Regions from separate parts of the Homo sapiens genome. Here all the other regions are linked to region 1. The links are contacts of gene promoters, found by promoter capture Hi-C in blood cells and fetal thymus (Javierre and others, 2016). All regions are on one chromosome and are shown on one strand. The core of a region is centred on a gene start or on the middle of the fragment in contact, and the rest is flanking DNA. Distances in the headings are between cores, read along the strand shown.

Evidence for each region. The method cuts DNA at HindIII sites, captures the fragments that hold promoters and counts their contacts. A CHiCAGO score of 5 or more calls a contact.
Region 2: a contact is called between a fragment that was not itself captured here and the fragment with the promoter of ADAM30 in region 1, in 9 of 17 cell types (monocytes, M0 macrophages, erythroblasts and 6 more). The highest score is 12.9, in monocytes.
Region 3: a fragment that was not itself captured here is called in contact with the fragment with the promoter of ADAM30 in region 1 in 8 of 17 cell types (erythroblasts, neutrophils, monocytes and 5 more); the score reaches 11.7 in erythroblasts.
Region 4: a fragment that was not itself captured here is called in contact with the fragment with the promoter of ADAM30 in region 1 in 3 of 17 cell types (M0 macrophages, M1 macrophages and M2 macrophages); the score reaches 6.8 in M0 macrophages.
Region 5: a fragment that was not itself captured here is called in contact with the fragment with the promoter of ADAM30 in region 1 in 4 of 17 cell types (M0 macrophages, M2 macrophages, M1 macrophages and 1 more); the score reaches 11.8 in M0 macrophages.

Annotation. Positions count from the first base shown.
Region 1 is chr1:119,895,189-119,897,888 of GRCh38, reverse strand. ADAM30 (ADAM metallopeptidase domain 30) reads left to right here and starts at 1,374. Exons shown (of 1, transcript NM_021794.4): 1 at 1,374-2,700. The coding sequence starts at 1,553. The HindIII fragment of the contact is 9,342 bases long and covers 1-2,700 here.
Region 2 is chr1:119,985,831-119,988,530 of GRCh38, reverse strand. It overlaps NOTCH2 (notch receptor 2), which reads left to right. Exons shown (of 34, transcript NM_024408.4): 5 at 1,449-1,571. Among named protein-coding and RNA genes, the nearest start is that of NOTCH2, 82 kb to the left of the region's middle. The HindIII fragment of the contact is 1,117 bases long and covers 739-1,855 here.
Region 3 is chr1:119,963,159-119,965,861 of GRCh38, reverse strand. NOTCH2 (notch receptor 2) reads left to right here. Exons shown (of 34, transcript NM_024408.4): 10 at 296-409; 11 at 2,055-2,288. Among named protein-coding and RNA genes, the nearest start is that of ADAM30, 68 kb to the right of the region's middle. The HindIII fragment of the contact is 8,628 bases long and covers 1-2,703 here.
Region 4 is chr1:119,828,840-119,831,605 of GRCh38, reverse strand. No RefSeq gene overlaps it. Among named protein-coding and RNA genes, the nearest start is that of REG4, 19 kb to the right of the region's middle. RefSeq lists a silencer at 134-334. The HindIII fragment of the contact is 506 bases long and covers 998-1,503 here.
Region 5 is chr1:119,785,484-119,788,183 of GRCh38, reverse strand. No RefSeq gene overlaps it. Among named protein-coding and RNA genes, the nearest start is that of HMGCS2, 18 kb to the right of the region's middle. The HindIII fragment of the contact is 4,371 bases long and covers 1-2,700 here.

The DNA.
Region 1 (2,700 bases), core at 125-2,624:
TGTTTTTCTTCTTTGAGTGGTTAGAACCATGACACACACATACACCTAAGCCAGAAACATCAACATTCTTTTTCATTTTTGCCTCTTTCATTCTGGGAGAATCCATGCAAGCATTAAGTCCAGCAGAGTCTAAGTGGTTTTAAATCTCTTGGAGCTGTCAACTTTTGTCCTTCCCTAAAGAGACAACAGAGTTGACTAGTAAAGAACACAGGCTCCGGGTAGAGTTGCCTAAATGTTCACAGGGATTGCTTCAGCTGACGCCACCTTCTGAACCATGGTACGGTTTTCATGTCCTCATGTGCAAAGTATGGGTGATAATAGTAGTACCTATAACCTAGGGTCATGGTGAAGATTTAATGGGCTGATTTATGCAGAGCATAGCGGGGTGTGTAGCATGAAACGAGCCAGTCTTCCATAAGTACTGCTTATTATCAGCCCTAAGGCCATGCTTTCTGCCAACAGACAACATTGCTTGGTACAAGAGCTTTTAACTAGTCTCCCTGACTCAAGCCTGTTCCTTTTTAACCTTTCCTTGTAATTCAGCCAGATGGAATCTCCCAGGAACAAAACTGAAAATATTCCTCTCTTATCAGAATCCCTCAGAATCACCTCATGACCTTCCGATTTGCCCTTTTACGGACGATAAACCCTTCCATTTTCTGAGCCAGAGGCTTCTTCCTTTGTGGAGTCAGCCTCATCGCTCGACTAGGAACATAACCAGCTATCTACCTTTCTCAGAAAGCACTTGGGTTTGCTCTTATAACAGGCACTTTTTCTAGGTTCTTCCCACCATTGCACATGGACACACAAAAATTACACTGACCCCTGGCACCCCAAAGACAAACAGCAGAAAGCACTCCCAGGCAAAATGAGCTCAGGACCTTTCTGTTGCCTGGGCCCACAACTAAGGTTCAGGGCCTTCTCTAAAAAGAAGCCGCAGCCGAAGACAGAGGAACTGCCCAGAGTGGGGCTGGGGGTGTGGAGTCTACGCTGATACTTTCAGGCTGTTTCCACTCTTGCTGGTTCTGATGCTCCTTTCTTTTGCCACAAGCAACCCTAGTGGAAAACTGGGAAATGTCCAACAATGAAGTTAGGACAGTGGCCCATAAAACATCGGATTCCAACCTGTGTCCTAAGGTGTAAAGACACAGAGTAAAGGCAAAGATACAGTGAGCCTTTAACACGTTCTCCTTTGTTCTTCCTATTTCTCTATTCCTTCTCCATTTCCGATGGTGTTCTCTACCCTCTCTCCAACCCACGTGCCAACAGCCCCTCTTTTCTCTTTTATTCTCGCCCACGTTTCCCTCCTTTCTTCCACCTGCGCCCAACGGTACGGCCCGGAAAACGAACTGGATGCGTTGGACAGGTCACGCGCGCATTGCGGACGCCAGCTAGACCGAGCCCTGGGAGGCTACGGGCTCCCCCGGAAACCCTGCCAGGGGAGCCGGGTTTTGAGCTCAGGCGCCTCTAGCGGCGGCCCCCAGAAATCTGACTCGCGAGGCCAGAGTTGCAGGGACTGAATAGCAAACTGAGGCTGAGTAGGGAACAGACCATGAGGTCAGTGCAGATCTTCCTCTCCCAATGCCGTTTGCTCCTTCTACTAGTTCCGACAATGCTCCTTAAGTCTCTTGGCGAAGATGTAATTTTTCACCCTGAAGGGGAGTTTGACTCGTATGAAGTCACCATTCCTGAGAAGCTGAGCTTCCGGGGAGAGGTGCAGGGTGTGGTCAGTCCCGTGTCCTACCTACTGCAGTTAAAAGGCAAGAAGCACGTCCTCCATTTGTGGCCCAAGAGACTTCTGTTGCCCCGACATCTGCGCGTTTTCTCCTTCACAGAACATGGGGAACTGCTGGAGGATCATCCTTACATACCAAAGGACTGCAACTACATGGGCTCCGTGAAAGAGTCTCTGGACTCTAAAGCTACTATAAGCACATGCATGGGGGGTCTCCGAGGTGTATTTAACATTGATGCCAAACATTACCAAATTGAGCCCCTCAAGGCCTCTCCCAGTTTTGAACATGTCGTCTATCTCCTGAAGAAAGAGCAGTTTGGGAATCAGGTTTGTGGCTTAAGTGATGATGAAATAGAATGGCAGATGGCCCCTTATGAGAATAAGGCGAGGCTAAGGGACTTTCCTGGATCCTATAAACACCCAAAGTACTTGGAATTGATCCTACTCTTTGATCAAAGTAGGTATAGGTTTGTGAACAACAATCTTTCTCAAGTCATACATGATGCCATTCTTTTGACTGGGATTATGGACACCTACTTTCAAGATGTTCGTATGAGGATACACTTAAAGGCTCTTGAAGTATGGACAGATTTTAACAAAATACGCGTTGGATATCCAGAGTTAGCTGAAGTTTTAGGCAGATTTGTAATATATAAAAAAAGTGTATTAAATGCTCGCCTGTCATCAGATTGGGCACATTTATATCTTCAAAGAAAATATAATGATGCTCTTGCATGGTCGTTTGGAAAAGTGTGTTCTCTAGAATATGCTGGATCAGTGAGTACTTTACTAGATACAAATATCCTTGCCCCTGCTACCTGGTCTGCTCATGAGCTGGGTCATGCTGTAGGAATGTCACATGATGAACAATACTGCCAATGTAGGGGTAGGCTTAATTGCATCATGGGCTCAGGACGCACTGGGTTTAGCAATTGCAGTTATATCTCTTTTTTTAAACATATCTC
Region 2 (2,700 bases), core at 48-2,547, 91 kb before region 1:
AGACTCATATTTCTGTATGAATAATATGAAATATGAGTAATATGATACATTTTTGAAATTTGAGTAAATTTTCATAGTCTTTTTCAGGCTTCTTCAGTGATTCATCTGCTTGAATGGACTGAGTACCAAATACTTGGAGAAATATAATTTCCTTCAATAAAGCCTTCAGTGATTTCTGTCTTCCATGGAGTGATTTTTGGCTAATGTTTTTGGTCACTCAGTTTATACTTATTTATATGACTGCCATTGTATTTAGAGAAATCAGCCATGTTCCAGTGTAGCAGAGCAGATGTAGAATGCCACAGTAACTTATGGTAAGGAATAAAGCAAAGTGTGATTGATGTGTGTCCCACTCACAAGGCTGTAAATGCCACAAAAGCAGGGACTCACTGCTGTATCACCAGTGCCTAATGTAAGTCCCAGTAAGTATTTTGAGTGAGAGAGAGGAACCTTAAGGGATATTTCGAGGAAGCCAAATATGTAATCATACTATATTTCAAATAGGAGAATGTTTAGAATAGAAGCTGGTAGTCTTCTATTTAATTAGCTCAGGAGTTTGGTAGCAAGGAAAGAGAAAGTAAGAGGCCCAACATATAAACTACAAAGGACCACACTGTGGGCAGTTAGAGTGAAGTTTGGTGTACTAGTTTCATTTTTCATAAAAGAAAAAGTCAAGAGGAAGGAAGCAATGCTGTAAGTTTAGAGAAGAGCCTGATGAATTTGAAGTGCTGGTAAGCTTAGTTAGTAATAATGCCACCCAATTTTCAGATACCTTTTAACATTTGTATAGCACTTTACTCATGATGTGGCACTTATAATTAGAAAGACAGGATAGGCAAGTGGAATTAGCCTCATTTTTTACAGGTGAGGAAGTTGATGCAGAACTTTAGCTTACCATGTACGAATAGCTTGCAGGTGGTGAGATTGGGACTTGATCCATATCTTCATACTTTAAGTTCAATATTTTTCCTATATCCTCCCCCACTCCCTTCCCCACCTGGCTTGGAGGCCGCCTAGCAATCATTCAAAGAAAAAAAATAAAAGGAACTTAAATTTAATTAGGTAATATTTTATCTGTTCTTCCCATTAGTCTGGTATGGAGCTGGGGAAAATCCAATACCCTGTTTTTTTAGAACCCTTGAATATCTCTGTCCCAAGTAGACATTTATCATCCCTGGGATTTTATTTCATGAAAACATTTTGAAATACTTGTGAGGTAACTATGAAGGCATGCCATTGGCACAATGAGTCACTTTCACTGTCTAGCTATGCTTGAGGCCAGAGAAGACAGAGAATTGGGGATTTTTCATATGGTGAGTCCTGGGTGAGCAGCTGTTGAACTGAAGTCATGAAGCGGGTCTATTCTAATAACCATGTTCTGTGGGAACAGAGCAGGTCGTTTCTTCTGTATGAGATTTCATCATTTTCATTTGTTCTTCATTTACCAGGTTTTGAAGGGAGCACCTGTGAGAGGAATATTGATGACTGCCCTAACCACAGGTGTCAGAATGGAGGGGTTTGTGTGGATGGGGTCAACACTTACAACTGCCGCTGTCCCCCACAATGGACAGGTATGTACAGTGTGGAGAATCCACCAGAATGGGATATGGATTGGTAACCAGAGGCAGACTGTTTTTTTAAAATATCAGTAACAAATATCTTAGGCCTGCTCTGGAACCAGTATGTGAACTGAGCAGGATCTCCATGCTAGATCATTGCTTATTGTACTAACCTCATACATTTTCCTATGTTCACTCAAAGACATATTTTCACAGGTATTATTGGGCAGCAACTCTGAACCCAGCACCATGCTAGATGCTGTGGCAGATATGAGAGAAGAGCACTACTGTAAGCTTATTATCTGGGAAAAGCAGGACATTACCTGGAACATAGTAGATGCTTAATAAATATTAAAGAGGAAAAATTTCCTGAAATGCTAAAATAAATTGTACAGGCTACCAGAGTTCAGAGCCTATTTGTTCACGGACAGAGATCTGTCCCATCTTAATGTCATGTTCTATAACTAGGCAAAGTGTTAGGCAGGTACTCTTAATGACATTATTTTTATGATACGCATCCTACATTTGTTTTTTTCTTCTATCCCTTTTTGTACACGAACAAAAATAGTTTTTTCTGCCTCTAACATTAGAAGGGTAGTCTTGCTTAATTTTACAGCCTCTTGGAAGTTTCTCATGTAGTCTTAGGCAGGTTGAGTGATTTACGCAGACATTTGGTTCTAATTTCTCTTTATGTCTGTTTATCTACTGAAAGTAGAGACAATTAAGAACTGATTAAGGGACTAAGAGCTGGGCCTTTTTGAGAGAAATTAATTTAATGTGGAAACCCAACAGGAAGTTAGTATTATAAGAAAAAATTACAGTACCAGTAGTGGGCTATCTCCTACAAAGAATCTTAATGTTGAAGTGCAGCCATTACTACCTGGTATTCTTTAGTGTCTCTGAATTACTTTTCCTTATCTGTAGCATCTAATTATTTACAATACTCTTTAGAGCTGTAGACTATGAATAGAAAAAGATGAAAAGCATTTAAAAACTCAATCACAGGACTTACTGGGGAGGCCAAACATTTCTGCTTTTAATTCCCAAACTGTCCCTTTTAATACTTTCCCACCAGGTTTTCCTAGAATTGGGACTTCTCCTAGAATTTCTTCATGGTGTCTTGATCCTAGAACTTCACTTC
Region 3 (2,703 bases), core at 70-2,569, 68 kb before region 1:
GTTGCCTCTGAAGCTACAGTTACTTGTTTGAGGTTCCACCTATAAATTTCACTTCCTACATCCTTCATTTAGAAGTGAAGTCTGTCTGTGAAGAAGCAATGGTAGAGACACACCACAAGTGCCTCTGATTCCCTGAGTGTCACCTGGTTATTCCAGTTACCTGTTGGGGAGAATAATAAAGCATAGGCTTATTGACCCATTGGTATAAGCCCTGCTAGTAACCTAACATCATTCTCATGGTAAAGGGAGACACAAGATAATCCTTTGACTCATGTTACCACTGTCCCTTTTTGAGGTTTCACTGGGCCAGTTTGCCAGATTGATATTGATGACTGTTCCAGTACTCCGTGTCTGAATGGGGCAAAGTGTATCGATCACCCGAATGGCTATGAATGCCAGTGTGCCACAGGTAAGATTCTTCTCACTTTTCATCTCCTTGGTAGGTCCATCTGAACAAAATAGGGTGATTGTCCCTGTCCTCTGCTAGCTGCTGTGCCAGGCCAGTCCACTCCCAGAGGCTCCTCTGTGTTTAGGAAGAGCTGTTTCTAACAAATTTTTTGCTGCTCTCTTTTTCTGCAGCACCTGCCTCCTCCACCACAACAGTGGTCTGGCCCAGATATTTCCATTTGGTATCCATGTCTTTCTGGGACAGATTTTGGCAGCAGTAAGTTTCCAGCTGGCTAGATTGACTCATTTAGGAAAGAGAAGAAATCCAGTTGAAAGCTATTTTTCACTGGGGCTTCTCAGCAGGAGGCCTGGCTCTGTGTTTCTTGAAGCAAGTGACTGAAAGAAGGCCCAGAAATTTAAAGGCTGAATGTGTACAAGTGCAGGGGTATTCTGCATAAAAGACACCAAAATAGGATTGAGAGTCAAGTGTGTAAATGACAGGAGAGAGAGCTCTCACTGGGAAAGTTTGGGTCCTCTTTGCTGACTTCTGCAACTAGAGTCAAAAACGATCTGTGCACAAATATTCTGCATTTCTGGGTTTGTAATCACATTTTGTACTTGGGATTGGATTTCAGTAAGCCAGATGTTCCCTATTACACATTTCCTTTTACACAGGCAAATATTATACAGAAAGGCTAGAAATTATTAGAAGTGAACTTCTTTATTATCTGACTGCTTGAGAAAGAAGTTATTTATGTAATTCAAGACATTAATTTTAGAGAATGGAGTCTTAAAGATTAAAGGCATCATGCATATAATTTATTTCTGATCACAGAAAAGCAAATTTAATTGTGAAAATTAATACAAAAAGTTAATATTTTAATTATTAGACCTACTTAGTTTAGGACAACTCAGATGAGCCACTTTCTTTCTTTTTGCAAATAGTTAATGCTTGTCAGAGAATCCAGATTTTGTCTTCCCCTGGCCAGATTCTTCTTGTAGAGGATAAGTTTCAAAGAGATTAAAAACCTTTAGCTCAGGTTTAAAAGTGGGGGGAGGACTCCTGGAGTCTTTTAGGGAAAGATATAATGTTTGTCTATTTACACCTCGAAGAAAGGAAATCTTACTTGTCTCTTTTTCTTTTAAATTCTCATAACAGGTTCATTCATTTTATTCAACCAGTATTTATTTAAAACTACTATATATGCATACTACTCTCAGAGGAGTTGAGAGAAGTAAAATAAAGCTCTCTTACCTCCAAAGTCAGAATTGGGGACATAAGATACATGAAATCATTAACCTGTATATTGGACTTGGGAAGAAAGAAATACAAAGATAAATATATAAAGGAAAAATATTTTGAGCTGTTATACCTGAAGCCTAGTAAGAAATGAAGGTGCAGTTAAAGCATCTCTGCAATGAAATTATTGATCAGTTGCGAAGGTATTTCAATTCTAAAATTTGATTTGGAAATCTTTATTTTAAGCACCTCTCTCCAGGCATACTTTCTAAATCAATGCAGATCGTCGTTTTCTACTGCTCAAGACCTGCAGTATTAATTGACCACACATCGAATGTGTAGAGTAAATGGATGTAGCTACACTTGTGTTCTGGTGTGGAATATCTGCCTTGGTCTTTGAGAATCCTTGATAAAATTCTTTCCAAAGGTTTCACTGGTGTGTTGTGTGAGGAGAACATTGACAACTGTGACCCCGATCCTTGCCACCATGGTCAGTGTCAGGATGGTATTGATTCCTACACCTGCATCTGCAATCCCGGGTACATGGGCGCCATCTGCAGTGACCAGATTGATGAATGTTACAGCAGCCCTTGCCTGAACGATGGTCGCTGCATTGACCTGGTCAATGGCTACCAGTGCAACTGCCAGCCAGGCACGTCAGGTAAGCCCACTCTGTTTATGTTTGGTATGGGGTTTTCACTGTTTCTCAAATCTGTTTACACAGATGTTTCAGACTGTTGGCATATGCTCAGATACCTAAAAAACAGTCCTGATTCTGAGAAGCACAGCCAAAGCCACAAACATAAATGTCTCAAGGCAAATGGCCCTAGCCAGTGGAGAAGTCAGAGACAATAGCTCTGCCAATCTGATGATTTTGTGTGTGTGTTTGTGTGTGTTTTGTTAAATAGAGGCATACCACTTCAAAAATTAAAATTAATGATTTAAAATTGAAAACCCTCTTTTTTGTGGCTATATTATCTTTTTTTCTTTAAGTTCCACCCCACCCAGATTAATAAATTCAGTCCTTCCTTCCTTCCTTCCTTCCTTCCTTCCTACCTACCTTCCTTCTTCCCTTC
Region 4 (2,766 bases), core at 1-2,500, 66 kb after region 1:
AAGTGGATTTTTTTCTTTGTTTATTGTTTTTTACTTCCACTTTTATTTTAAGTTCAGGGGTACATGTGCTGGATGTGCAGGTTTGCCACATAGGTAAATGTGTGCCATGGTGGTTTGCTGCACAGATCATCTCATCACCTAGGTATCAAGCCCAGCATCCATTAGTTACTCTTCCTGATGCTCTCCCTCCTCCCACTTCCCACCCTCCGACAGGGCCAAGTGTGTGTTGTCTCCACCCCAACCCTATCTGTCCTTGTGTTCTTATCATTCAGCTCCCACTTACAAGCGAGAATATGCAGGGTTTTGTTTTCTGTTCCTGTGTTAGTTTGCTGAGGATAATGGCTTCCAACTCCCTCCATGTCCCTGCAAAGGACATGATCTTATTCCTTTTTATGGCTGCATAGTATTCCATGTGTATATATTCCACATTTTCTTTATCTAATCTATCATTAATGGGCATTTAGGTTGATTCCATATCTTTGCCGCAGTGAACATATGCATGCATATATCTTTATAACAGCATAATTTATATTCCTTTGGATATATACCCAGTAATGGGATTGCTGGGTCAAATGGTATTTCTGCCTCTAGGTCTTAAAGGAATCACTACACTGTCTTCCACAATGGTTGACAGTTACACTCCCACCAACAGTGTAAAAGCATTCTTTTTTCTCCACAACCTCGCCAGCATCTGTGAATTTTTTTCTATTTTTGCCTATGGATGTCTAGTTTTCGCAACACAATTTGTTGACAAGACTATGCTTTCTCTCCTGAATTGTTTTGAACCATTGTCCATCCTTTGGAGGGATGAGACTAGAGAGAGGACTGTCCTGATCATTGGAGGAACAGGGCCTGAAGTAGTGCAGGTCTTATGGAAAAGAAAAGGAACACATATTTTTTCAATGAGGCAGAGGAAAGCCCCAAGCACAAGTGGGGGACTCCCTACCCCCATGTGTGGCACATTTGCCTCTGCTCTGCCTCTCCTGCTGCAAAAGCTTGGGTGTGCATAGACACTGAGGCCGAGTTGTGCCACTGGGCACATTTGGGCATTGACATCAAATGTGTGACATCAAATCCCAGTATATCAAACAGGCAAAGTGGCAGGAAAACAGGAGACATAATGAAGAATGAAATAATTCAGTTGAAAACGACACACATGTTAGAAATAGCAGGCAATAACATTAGAGCAGTTATTATAATTTTAATTAAATGAAGATGTGGGAGATATTTTTAAAATATCAAATTCCATAAGTGAAAACTACATTTTACTGTCTGAAATTTTAAAAAATGCACTGGATTGAACATTGCAGAGGAAAAGATTAATGAATTAAAGGAAACAGCAATAGCAATGAACACAAATGAAACACACAGGAAAAAATGAATTTAAGAAATAAAAAGCCCATCAGTGGGAAAATTTTAAACACTCTACTAAATGGAATCCCTGAAGGGAATGGAGTGGATAAGGGCGATAGAAAAATATTTAAAACATACTGGATGAAAGCTTTCAAAGCTTCATGAAAACCATAAACTCCAAATAACCCAGAAACGTAATGTATTCTAATATCCCAAAGTCTGTGCTCTTTTCAGAAAAGGAAGTTTAGCATAAAGCACTAAACCAGGAGTCAACATATTGTATTTCCAGCTGTTGTTCCAACAGCTGTATTATAAAGGGCCAGTTCATTTCATGCATTTTTAATTTGATCTAAAGTGCCAGGTGGCATTGGGGCTGGCACAGCCTTGCTCAATTATGTGTTGAAGAGTAAACAGAGACTGCTAGGCTGAGGGAAGATGCAAAAGAATAGAAGAGATGCTCACAGGGAGCAAGACAACACACGGCCCCAGAGTCAGAGGCAGCATTAGTCACTGTCGGCTGCTCGTTTTCCCAGAGTCCGCAAGCCTCAGCTATGCTTTGCTTCTGCAAGAGGCCTCTTCACCTTTTCAATAAACCTGCCTGAATTTAAGGTGATGGGGGTTTATTTCTCCTTCATTATAAATGAAATTCTTCACCACAACAATCCCCAGTGAATTGTGGGCACAGAAGGCAGGCCCATCCCTGCTTCTGTTCCACTATCTCCCCTGTAGGACAAAAAGGAGGAGGTACTGACTTACCTCCAAATGCTCCTCTGGCTCTGATATCCTGTTATTCTAGTTTCTTTTCAGCTACTTTGTTTTTGGAAGCATGTATCCTAAGGCGTCCAGTTGAACAACCTTTGTCTACTGTGTCCAGGCATTCCTGGTGGTATTTCAGATAAGACACTCTTGGGTTGCTGCACTCACAACCACTGAACCAATTCTATGACCATCTGTTTCATGGCCACATGTTTGCTCATTTTATATGTACACAAAGGGAGGAGACAGTCAGCAAACTTGCATGTTATAAATTGTATCATCTTAGAAAGGAAACAAGGCAAGACTTTGCAATAAAACCTTAAGATTCATTAATTTTAATCCTAATGCAATAAAGAATGCTCATAAAATTCTTATCTAAAGAATGTTTAGAAAACCAAGGGACATCATCATTTAAAGTGATATGAAGAAAACTTCTCAGCTAAGCATATGGGCTAGATTAGACAGAAAAATAAAGAACCCATCTCTGCCCTGGAAAAACTACTGGTAGCATCTTTCAGAAAGCTCTCTGTGTTCGAGTATGCACCTTGATCCATAGGCTCACATTTGATCCCAACTGGCGGCTGCTTCTTGGCATTATCATTGGATTCCCAACTAGTAAATCTTACCAAGATCTGAGTTTCTGCAGATATGATATTA
Region 5 (2,700 bases), core at 145-2,644, 110 kb after region 1:
ATGTCCGTTATGCTTGTAGCTCTTATAAAACCAAGAAAATGACATACTAAATAGAAATAAACTACATATCTAATAAACTTCAAACTCAGATAAGTTTGATTTCATGGAGAATGTGGGTTTGTTGCAACTAAACTTGGCTTACGAAACAAGTCTGGAATGCCTTGCTGTGGTTCAGGTTCTTTTGGGGTTTGACAGTCAGTTTGTGGCTGAAATATTACTTTACTTTTCTTTATTTAAAGATGAAGTGGTGCAAGGCCTTTGTTCTTTGAGAGCCCTGCAACACTTGGCCTCTACTCCACACCCTGTTCCAGAGGAAGTCAGCTTATGTTCTCTCCCATTATCTCAGTTACTGTACAACTCGATGTCAATGAACTTTAACATAAATGCAAAATGCAGCATGAAAATCCCAATGCATTTCTCAGAAAGTAATCAAGCACGTTATCTAGAAAACTCTGTTTTTAAATACACATTATTATCCAAATGAAAATAAACTTTCAATAAAACAAAGGGGGCAGGTGGAAACTTTTGGAGGTGAAGGCTAAGTTTATTGAGTTGATGTGATAATGGTTTCACAGGTGTACACTTTTCTCCAAACACATTAAGTTGTATGCATTAAATATCTACAGCTTTTTAATATCAATAATACCTCAACAAAGTGATTTAAAAAAAATACAGGCTGGGCGTGGTGGTGTGCACATGCAATCCCAGCATTTTGGGAGGCTCAGGTGGGACGCTCACTAGAGCCCAGGAGCTGGAGGCTGCAGTGAGCTATGATCACAATGCTGCACCAGCTTGGGTGACAGGTAAGACCTTGTCTGTAGTCTCTAAAAAAAAAAAAGAAAAAAAGAAAAGAAAGAAAATACATTTTAAGATTTTTTTTCAGTTAGAAAGAATAAATAATACCTAGTATTTGATAGCATAACAGGGGGACTACAGTTGATTATGATTTAATTGCACATTTAAAAATAACTAAAATAATGTAATTGGATTGTTTGTAACACAAAGGATAAATGCTTGAGGGGGGTAGATATCCAATTTTGCATGATGTAATTATTATGCATTGTATGCCTGTACCAAAATATCTCACATACCCCGTAAATATATACACCTAACTATATACTCACAAAATTTTTTTAAAAAAATAAATATTTTTCCAGAGAACCAGTAGCAAAGCAAACTGCCCAACTGTAGGGAGACCCCTGATGTGCTTCCCCCTGCAGAGAGCCTATGAATGGACGTGCAGTCAGGAAAGTTTCACATCACCAAGATTCCTATCCCAGGAAAGCAGATGTTCATAGCTCTGGGAATGGAATGCAACCCTTGTGGAGAGCCTATAAACGAACGCATGGGAGGCAGCTGTCCATATGGATAAGACAGGGCTATAAACGCCCTCATCTTGCCATGGCTCTTCTAGGCCTCTTTAGGGTTAAGGCATACTCCCTTCTGAGAATTTCTGGTCTAACCAGTTGTCTAGCTTCACATCCTGTTTCCATGGGTTGTTTGTAACCAGCTTTTGTGGCAATTGTTACTGCTGACTAATATCTTGCTAATCATAGGTTATGGAAAGACTGTGTTTCTGTTTTAAGGCTCTGTTAGAAATTACTGATGCACACACTATGTTGTAAATTCTTATCTCTGTATACTGTACTTCTGCATACAAATGTACTGTACTTCTACATACAAATGTTATGTTAAAGAATTACTTCATCCCCATGTGACCATCTCACCTCATAATCAAATAACCCTAAATCCCTCACTAACCTACCCCCGCCCTCACTAAACTTAATAATAAATGCTGGTATATCCAGTGTATTGTTGGCACCACAGGACCAGAAGGCGGTGACCCCCCTGGACCCAGCTTTCACTATCTTGTGTGTGTCTATTATTTCTCAACCTGCCGATCTGCCTGGGAACAAAGAGAAAGCCCCGTTGCATTGCGGGCTGCTGGCCAGATCCCGCAATACCCAACATATTTCTACAGAGCACAAGGGGTGCACAGGCTCCAGTTTCAGGTGTTTAGGTTCATGAGGCAAGTCTTTATATTCTCTTTCTTTATGTCAGAGGACAAGGAAAAAGCATGGATTTTTGTTGTCATATGCACTCGGGTTACAATCCCAGGCCTGGCAACTAATAGCTCTGTGACTTTAAACAGCTCACTAACCTCTTTGAGGCTGTTTTCCCACCTAAAAAATGGAGGGTGGGGGCATGGGGGGAATGACTTTTTTATGATTGTGGAACAGATGACATGAAATTGTGTGTCAACACAGGTATTAAATTAGGAGCACAGTGACATGTGTCCCTAGACCCATGTAGTGAGTCTGCCCTTTCAAGAAATAACACATTTGAATGGCTGCTGTCAATCAATGGCAACTAGGTATTGTCCCAGGCAGTCATTGTCCCGGGATAAGGATTTAACAGAAAGTTTTGAGGCTTGATTAAAATTTCCTGAGAGTCACAGTAAACAAAGTTGTCACAGGGAGAGATGGATCATCTGCCTAAGCAGCTCCAGAGCAGGAGAAGCACTCTGCGCTCTGTAGAATGGGAGGGTATGGTGCCGTCAGCTCAGCCCATGGCTGATTCTGCAAACTACTGGGAACAAGCTCTCCCAGCCCAATGGCTGGGCTTCAGGGAATACTGGCTGAGCGTGAGAGGGGGACCTGAAGGGGCGATGGGCTTAGATCCCAAGCATGGAAACACCTT